Regions from separate parts of the Homo sapiens genome. Here region 1 is linked to region 2. The links are contacts of gene promoters, found by promoter capture Hi-C in human tissues and cell types (Jung and others, 2019). All regions are on one chromosome and are shown on one strand. Each heading gives the region's core, a stretch centred on a gene start or on the middle of the fragment in contact. The rest is flanking DNA. Distances are from core to core; before and after follow the strand shown.

Evidence for each region. Contacts are between HindIII fragments. The study calls those that stand out against the background at their distance.
Region 1: a fragment that was not itself captured here is called in contact with the fragment with the promoter of AQP4 in region 2 in 2 of the 25 tissues and cell types used here (dorsolateral prefrontal cortex and lymphoblastoid cells).

Annotation. Positions count from the first base shown.
Region 1 is chr18:27,586,492-27,591,070 of GRCh38, reverse strand. The region is part of intron 1 of LOC107985126 (a long non-coding RNA gene); the gene reads left to right. Among named protein-coding and RNA genes, the nearest start is that of CDH2-AS1, 330 kb to the left of the region's middle. The HindIII fragment of the contact is 6,214 bases long and covers 1-4,579 here.
Region 2 is chr18:26,862,448-26,867,147 of GRCh38, reverse strand. AQP4 (aquaporin 4) reads left to right here and starts at 1,441. Exons shown (of 5, transcript NM_001650.7): 1 at 1,441-1,490; 2 at 4,552-4,700. The coding sequence starts at 1,459. It overlaps AQP4-AS1 (AQP4 antisense RNA 1), which reads right to left and starts at 1,840. Exons shown (of 8, transcript NR_026908.1): 1 at 1,788-1,840. RefSeq lists an enhancer at 3,692-4,192. The HindIII fragment of the contact is 8,928 bases long and covers 1-4,700 here.

The DNA of each region.
Region 1 (4,579 bases), core at 732-3,231, 720 kb before region 2:
TAGAAATAGACAAAGTGATATGAATAGTGAATTCACAGATGAGGAATTGTGAATTGTCAAGAATATTTGACTCTATGCTACGTCTCACCAATAGTCAGGGAAATGCCATCAATAAAAGCAATGCAATATCACTAAATAACAATTCAATTGGAAAAATGTTCGCTAGTTGAGACAGAGGATTGAGGAAACTTGAACTCCTAGTATAAATTGGTACAACTACTATGAAAATCATATATCTCTTTCTCTATATATCCATAAACTAGAAGTTCCATTCCTAGGTACACACCTTGGAAACTCTTGTATATGTAAGTGAAGATATAAATGCCAAAATGCTCATTGCATCACTATGTGTGATAGCAAAGAGAAGAAGAAAGAACAAAGAAAAGTAGAAATAACCTGAGAATAGTTGAGTTGTATGTATTTATTCAATAAAATACTATATAATGGTTTAAATAAATGAATTATAACCATAAATATCTACCTTAAAAAATTCTCAAAGTCTTGATTGAAATAATAATTTAATCATTCATGCCATCAGAGTTTATATTAAGTTAATAAATGCAAAACACTACTACGTATGATTTTTGAATGCATACATATGTAGTAGAAGTATAAAAATTATGCAGGGGAATGATAAATGTAGCATAGTGTTTTCCTCTGAAGAAAGAGTAGATTATGATTGGGGAAGAGGATACTGAGGTTTAATGTGTATGTAGAACATTTTATTATTCTTATAAATCTGTTGTGAATAAAGAAAAATATTAAGTCAATAGTTTTGTGATGAGTAAGGACACTATGTCCATGATATTGTTCTTTGTAACTTTAGTATGTTTGTCACGTTTCATGAGAAATATATTTCAAAAAAGAAATATGATCTTAATTTGTGTTGGGCTATGGAAACTGATCTCTGAAGGTAACTAGCAGTGTCCTTCTTGTCAACTTCAAAAATATTTTCTTCATTCCTTGCTCTTTGAAAGACTGAAAAATTCTGTAGACAAATTCAAGAAACTACCTCCTTTTTCCCCCTTTCTCGTTAGTGCATTATTCTGCTACTTCTCAGTATCATGGTTGAATCCGATAATATCTTAATATATCCTGTAGATAAATAAACATCCTTCTATATTTAAGGCCCTAATTCTGTAACTATAGGTTTCAAATTTTCAGTGGAACAATATACTAAACTCTTCAAAAAATTAGTCAGCTGTTTACTAATGAGCTGAAACCCAAGATTAGTAAAACAATATTGGTCAATACATTTTTTTCATCATATTGTCCAACTTGAGACTTTAAAAAGCATATCTTCCAAAGAGAACTCTTGTACTGTTAATTTGTATATAGTATAACTAAGATATTTTTCCATTCCCTATAAGAAAAAGGAAACAAATGAGAGAAAAAAATTAAAATTATCAATTGGGAATATTTAATTGGAAGAATTATTATCAGATATTTAATAATCTATTTTATTCATAAAATGATGAAAGCACGAATGTATGTTTTCAAAGGGATTTTTGATACCAAGTTCCTTTGATGCTTTGAGGCACTCAGCTGTGGAATGGGTGGCTTCTAATTATAAAAGAAATGCCATGAATTGACTCATTCTTGACAGTAATATCCAGAAAATCTTAGCAAATTCTAGATAATTTTTAAAGTACTGAATTATATTTGAAAACTTATATTTAAAAAAATTTATTCTAAGATATATATCGCTTTTTATAATTAATTTATACTTTGTTTCAGGAAAAGTACAAGTTAATGCACATGTGTGTAAATATGTCTATACATACATAATGCATGCATACATACATGCTGTGGGAATGAGTTAATCATGTTGAAAAGCAATTAATCATTTGGAGCATTGTGTTAGTCCATTTTGCATCACTGTGAAGGAATACCTGGGGCTTGGTAATTTATAAAGAAAAGAGGTTTGTTTGGGTTCACAGTTCTGCAGGCTATATGAGAAGCACAGTGCCAGCATCTGCTCCCAGTGAGGCCTCAGGAAACTTCTAATCATGGCAGAAAACAAAGGGAGAACCAGCAAATCACAAGGCAAGAGAGAGAGTGAGAGAGAGGGGAAGGTCCCAGGCTCCCAACCAGATCTTGCATTGACTGATTACCACGGGGAGGGCGCTAAGCTGTTCATGAGGGATCTGCCCCCATGACTCAAACATATCCCACTAGGCCCACCTCCAACATTAGAGGTCATACTTAAACATGAGATTTGGAGGGGATGAAACAGCCAACCCATATCAAGCATACAGGTGTAACTGGCCAACAATGTCCACCCTAAGACAACTATTAAAATGTCAGAGAATGATTTAAAGAAAGCATACAATGTATGGTGTGTAGCTTTTCACACCCCATTTTAGAAAATAAAAAGTTTGCATATGTCTTGTATCAATTATAGCTGGTCCTAGGTAACAGAGCCCAATTCTCAAATTCAGTTGATGGGGAAAAACAATTTGCATTTATAAAACTGAACATGCTAGATGCAAATGGAGCTATGGGTGAAGCTTGACCCAAGGCTCACAATGCACAGGATGGCATCAGGACTAGTTTCTCCTTTCCTGTTTCTAGGTGATGCTTTCCTGGTTGGCTCATGGTTTTAAGAGGACTTCCAAAAGTTCTTAGTGTAAAGGAATAGAGATTTAGGTGAAGAATATGAGTCTCTTTCAGAAGACTCGGTAAAAAATATCAGTGCGACTTGGTGGTTCTGATTGGTCACCTCTCCAAGAATATAAAGGTTTGATTGACAAGACTTGGGTTACGTGCCTTCTCTTGGAGCTAAGGTAGTATTCACTTCCTTGAAAGTACACCAAACTGGGAGGAGTGGGTAGACCTCAACAGAAAATATCAAAAGAGCAAATGGATACTGCACAAAGGGGAATAAAAACATTATCCATCCTCCTCACCACAGTTATGTCACCTCCTCCTCATGGAAGTATGGTGTTTCCAAAGCTTAGTCCTCAATGTACTATCTTGGGCTCTTCTATCTCATTTGAGGACTCATTCACTTTCAGTCCTCAAGTGCTGATTTTTGGCTAGACTCCCAAGTTTAGATCTATAGTCTGCCTTGCAGTTCTGAGTTCATCATTTGTTTATGGATATTTAATAATCCACTGTCAAATTGGAGTCTGGAAACTGGGATAACATAAACCCTGGAGGTATAGAACAAACATTTCACAGAGTACTTCTGTATAGCGAGTTTTATGAGCACTAATTGATAGATTATCAAATTCCAGTTGTGCTTTTCCCAAAAGTAGGTCTGCCTGAGAAGGGGCTTATATTCATACTAGTCTTGTCACCATTGCAGCAACAAAGGGCAAACTTTATACTCTTTCAAAATTATACTGGGGTGGTTAGCTCTGGGCTATCCATTAAAACTTTCTGGGCATTAAAATAGTCATAATTTAAAGTACTGGTTTTAATAATATCTCCATTTTTGATTAATTAAAATATCTTAAATCTGAATGGCTTTCGTTCTCTGTTATTCATGTCTGTTAAAGATGAGATGTTCCCTACCTTAGAATGTTCTGAATTCAGAAAAACCTAAGGAGTACAGGTAATGATACTGATTTTTAAATATAAAACTAGAATATTTTCTAGGGTTACCACAATTTTCAAGAACATATTACATAAAAACCTATTAATAGAATATTTACATGATTTGTTTTCTCAAATTATATATATATTACAGTTGTTAATGCCTACTTAATCCAATTATAACATGGTATTTAATCAGGTAGTCAAAACCTATTTTTACCAAAACATGAAATACTTATTCCATTAGAATAAATTCTTACTATATTTTATCTTATTAAACCTATTATTCCCTCCAAATAATAATTTTAAAATAAAGTTTTAAAAATTCACATTGGAAAATTCAGACAAATTAAAATGGGCCAGAGGGACATCATGTTTCAAAAATTGTGAGATTATATGAGTTAAAATATTTGAAAACCACTGTCCCAATATGTGGGGAATTATATGTAAATGACCATTACAAATGAGGTATAAAATCCTTAGATCAGCCTGTGGGCCATGGGTAGATATAGTGGGAGTGTAAAACATACAGTGCTGATTTAGACCAAATTAGGAAATATCACTCTGGCCTTTTTTCTCAGGGTCCAGGTCTTTCACATGCTCACAGCTCCCTTCTGCAGCATGTTACAAGAACTGCACTCCAATTTTCCTGACTTTTTCAGACAGTCCCTCTTATGAGAACCAACATGCTCTCCAAGTCCAAGTGGGTCTTCTTTTTTTTTTTAGGGAGTTGACAAATCAATCAGACTAGCATGATGGGGTGAGCTTATATGTGCAAATACTATTTCCATCTAATAATAGGTTTGGATATTAATGAAACCAAACACCTTCTAGAACCAGTGCTGCAACTTGGAGAAATTCCATTGACTGTATTACCTGACGAGTAAAGAATTTGGGGGTTACACTTCATAGTATCTTTCAAGTTATTTTGGCTGTGTGAGCTCAACTTGAGGAATAATTATATAAGTAAATGACCATTACAGATGAGTTACAAAATCCTTAGATCATCTGTTACTGAAATAATAATGAGCAAAAATGC
Region 2 (4,700 bases), core at 192-2,691:
GTACAATAATAAGTGTGCAACCATATTCTTAAGAATCTAAATTCAATCTTGGTTAGCTGAGAATGCTTGAAACAGTAATAAAGTGCTCCTCTGAAAGTCACACTCAAATTTTGAATTCCTCTTTCTAATGAGAGCTCTTCACCCATTCCCATGTCTCAAGTACGCAAATGAAAACAAAACAAAAAAACTGTAACTGGGATTTAAAAGTATAACAGTCTTTCTTCTCTCATGTATTTCTTTCTTGTCATACTTCATTCTGGAAAAAAATAATCCAATCTGAAATATAAAGTGGGAAAAGGGAGGCATCCGTAGGTAATGTGAGTTATTATCATTGTTCTAGATGTTGGGTTGAGTGGTGGGTTCATAGATGTTCATTACATTATTTAAAAGCCATTATAATTAACTATTAGAAAATAAGAGGGCCATACATGCACGAGTGATGACAGAGTGTCATAAATCAGGAATTCTGATTATTCCAATCCCATGCACCTAAGATCTGTTTAAAGAAAAAATAATAATGAGATGGTGATGCAGGTAGCTAATGGTTAGACCCTTCTAGAGTTCACCAAACTCCTTCGGCAGGGACGTCTTCATAAGCATGCAGCCTGCGCAGCTGCACAAGGTCCTGCCTTTAGGAGCACCCAGCCTTTATTTATGCTCTGCTGTCGCAATCTTGAAATTTAAATAGTGTTTTACCAAGGTGTCCTGCATTCATTTTGCACTGGGACCAGTAAATTATAAAATCAGTCCTGTCCCTAAGTTTCCAGAGGTTAAATTTACCTACAGTTCCCCATAATTTCGTCCCCATCCAACTTTGATATTTTTTAAGTTTGCTACTTCTTATCCCCAGATTATTAATGTAACAGTCAGGTGAGCACCCTAGAGCAGTCTTTTTTCCTGTATTTCCTATGTTTCCTTATTTTTATTGTCCAAATCAGTGCTGCCTGTGCTATAAATGGAGCTGCAGTTATATATTGTTCTTATAATGCTTCTTCTCAGATCAAAAACTTCAAACAGAATTCATTGGCTAAAAACTAAATGCACTGAAGTCTCTATCTAAATTCATGTTAACTGCTGGATTATACAAATTCATTTTCTAATAATTGCCCAATTTCAACTACAACATATAACCAAACAAGACAAATTCTGAACAATTCTTCATGGTAGAAAGAATTCAAATAAAGATTTAAGGAAATCCTCATTTTCAAAAATTACTGTCTCAAAAAAAAAAAAATTAAGTAAATGTTTTTGCATTCCTGAAATGCCCTGTGTCTACAGTGATCAGGTACAGAAAAGCTACTTCAAGTTCAAATATAACTTAGCGATTGCCACATGGTGCAGAATCTTTCCACCCCTAACACTCCAAAAACCCAATCAGACAAGTGGCCGTAATCTGACTCCCAGCACACAGGGAGCTGCGGGGCAGGCAATGAGAGCTGCACTCTGGCTGGGGAAGGCATGAGTGACAGACCCACAGCAAGGCGGTGGGGGTAAGTCCTTCTTTGCCTTAAGGGAACAACGCTTAGGGCCAAAAGATGAAACTGTCTCTTTTATTATAGATGTTTGTGCCTTCTTAGGCAGAATCTGGAAGGCAGCTATAGGGCAGGTGGGTGGTTCTTTTAGATCTGAGTACTGGGCATTTTCAGAAGAGAGGCATAGAGAAGGTAGAAGAAAAGGGATGCTTTTTAGCCAAATCCTCCATATGTTTCAGATCTGCAAAAGCCCAGGAAAATTACCCTATGGAGGTGAATCTAGCTATAGTACATTTCTTCGGAAAAATTACTCACCCAGACGCTCAGCTGTCCTGGAGTGGATGAAGCTGAGTGTTCAGCTAGAAAGTAATGTGTCCGATTCAGTACATCAACAAACCCGCTTTGTTCTGGGGCAAAAGAAGCAAATCTAATTGTGTTGATCATTTCCAGTGACTGTGAACATATAAGGGAACACTGACAATAAAAGCAGGGTGCTATGGGTGACGCTAGGGTGAGCCCTCATAAGGCCAGAGATATGTATATGCTGCCAGCAAACTTCACGGTTCACAGCCAAGTGAGGCTGGTCCATCTGCCTTGGAAGAAGATCAGATTTTTGTGGATTTAAAAAAAAAAAAAAGCTAAAAACATTCTTAAAGAGCATGTTTATGTTTTGTGTTGGTGTTTTGCACTGTTTTAAATTTCTCTGGTTGATGAATATTTGAAGCTGAAAGAGCAACTACCTCTGGAGAGGTAAACAGGTGCATGACAGGCCAAGCAGGGAGAGAACTCCGGAAATGGCAGAAGTGAGAGGTGAAGGGGGTGAGCAGCGGGGCTGGCCTTTTCTGGGTCCCACCTCTTCTGGTGTCTCCTGCGGGGCTGAAAAGGACGTTTCCTGCCCACCTAGCTTCCTTAGCCTACTGTTTTGTCCTCCTCCTTCTCCCCTAACCCTGACCACAAACGACAGCACCTATGATCGCATTTTGCCCCCTTTGCCATCCCGGCTACAGCCCTGGGCTGCCGGTGAGTTCAGAAGTGACTCTCCTAACTTCTTCAATATGTGACTTTTCTGAGTTTACCGTCTTTGGGAATATTTTTAGTGTCTCCTCCAGGGTGCCCTCCCTGCCCCATTGCAACCATCGTTTTTGTCTCTTTACATTCTTTTCCTCTAGAGAGTATGATGTCGTTGTCATCCCACCTGGGGTTTTTCATACTTCTGAGATTCGCTTCACTGGGGCAGGGGATGCGTGGGATGTGGCTGGCCACCCCCCTGTGGAGCCAGCTCTTCCTTTATCCTGCCACCCGGGCCTGGGCAAGAAAGGGTTTTTCTCTCTCCACCTCTAAAGCAAAGCCCCATAGCAAACTAAGGGCTAGGCTGAGCTGGAAATTCCCCTCACCCTTTTTGGCACTGCATTTCCTCACTACCCACGCAGAAAGCAGGTTCCCGGGAACATTCAGTGACATGGGGAAATGAGGGCCCCGCAATTTGTCAAAGGGAAAGCCACAATAATACTAATCTCTTAAAGTACTTGGCTTTCTTGCCTAACCCCTTACGTGGTCCTCTGCAATTAGATTCTCTGGTAAATACTCTCCATACTTCTTGGCTCTCATGACTATCACAGGCAAAGGACAAGGGCAAAAGTCTTAGATGATAGGGTAACTGGGGTAATTGCCCCCCCCCCCCAAAAGGGGAATCCTAGCCATTTCCTGCCAGAATGAGCAGTTGGCATCAATATCGTCAAACCACCCCTTCTCTGCTCCAAAGATCTAATGACAGCAAGAGGGATATAGACGGGAGGAGAAGGCGTCCTCCCTCTCCCAGACTCCCTGCCCACCACCCTCCCCAGAGAAGCTCCACAAGGTGAGACACACTGTCCTATAGGCCCATGTAACAGAAAGCCATCAAAAAGACCGTAGAGAAAAGCCGTTTTCCATAGAGCCTTCTGCTCAGGGGCCCACAGTTTCCCTAACCACACCCGCTTTTCCTGACTTCCCGAGCTCTGCACCATGAAGGCAGGAAAGGTACCGGGGCATTGCTGGCACACCCCAGCCTCCAGGCTCCCTTTGGCAGGTTTATCTGCATTGTACGGTCAGGGTCAAGGGGTGAGAGAGGGTCGGGCACGAGGAGAGGCTGTCCTTCCTCCCCTAAAAGCATCCCCCACTCCCATCTCTCCCCACCTCCAGCGGCCAGGATGCACCGGGCCGGCGGGCAGGCGGGCGAGCTCGCGGGGCCGCTTCTGCGTGTGCACCTGGCCGCCGCCCGGGAGCCTGCCACGGGCCGGGAATGGCCGCTGCTCCGCCCTCTGAGAGGTGCTCCAGGCTCCCTGGGGACGGAGGTTTACACGTCCCCGTGCCGCGCTCCCAGATCTGGGCGGTGCGCGTGTCCCTTGGGCAGGCTCAGCTCCCGGACTCCTCCCGCTGGCAGCCTGCTCGTTCCTGGCGCAAAGGAGAGGGAGGGAGTGTCGCTGTCCCAGCTGAGGCCCTGCCTGTTCCCATCGCCCTTGCTAGTCACCAGAAGCTCCTCTCCCCTCAATGAGTTCACTTTCTCAAAAGACAGCCTTCAGCACCCTGGTTTCCTAGAAGGCTTCCCCCTAATCCAGAGTCTGGGGGGAGGGGGAGATTTTCAGAATGCCATTTCAAAGCAATCAAATGCAAAGCTAGAAAAGACGACCCCCCCCCCCCACGCACACCTTGTTTTAATGCTTTATGTTCGAAATGTAAGTAGCATATAAAATGTACTCGAAACTTAAAAACTTGCTCTAAGGGAATTAAGTACAAGGTAAATATATTTTATTCTTAATATTTTAAGGAATTTGATTTAGACATTTTTCCTTTCTAGGGACAGTTTGGATAATTTTCCGTGAAACTGGATGATCTTTGAATATTAAATGAAAGGAGACTAGAATAACAGTCTCTTGACTATTCATGAAGGAGCTTTAGCAGAAGCATTCTTTCTTGGTGTGCAAATCACGCCTGGCAGCCCCTGCCCACAGTACCCGAAGATGGCAGGCCTTGTTCCCTTCACCTAAATTCATAAACCTGGGTGTAGTGGCTTCTGATGCTGATTTGTTTCTCTTTTCAGTAAGTGTGGACCTTTGTGTACCAGAGAGAACATCATGGTGGCTTTCAAAGGGGTCTGGACTCAAGCTTTCTGGAAAGCAGTCACAGCGGAATTTCTGGCCATGCTTATTTTTGTTCTCCTCAGCCTGGGATCCACCATCAACTGGGGTG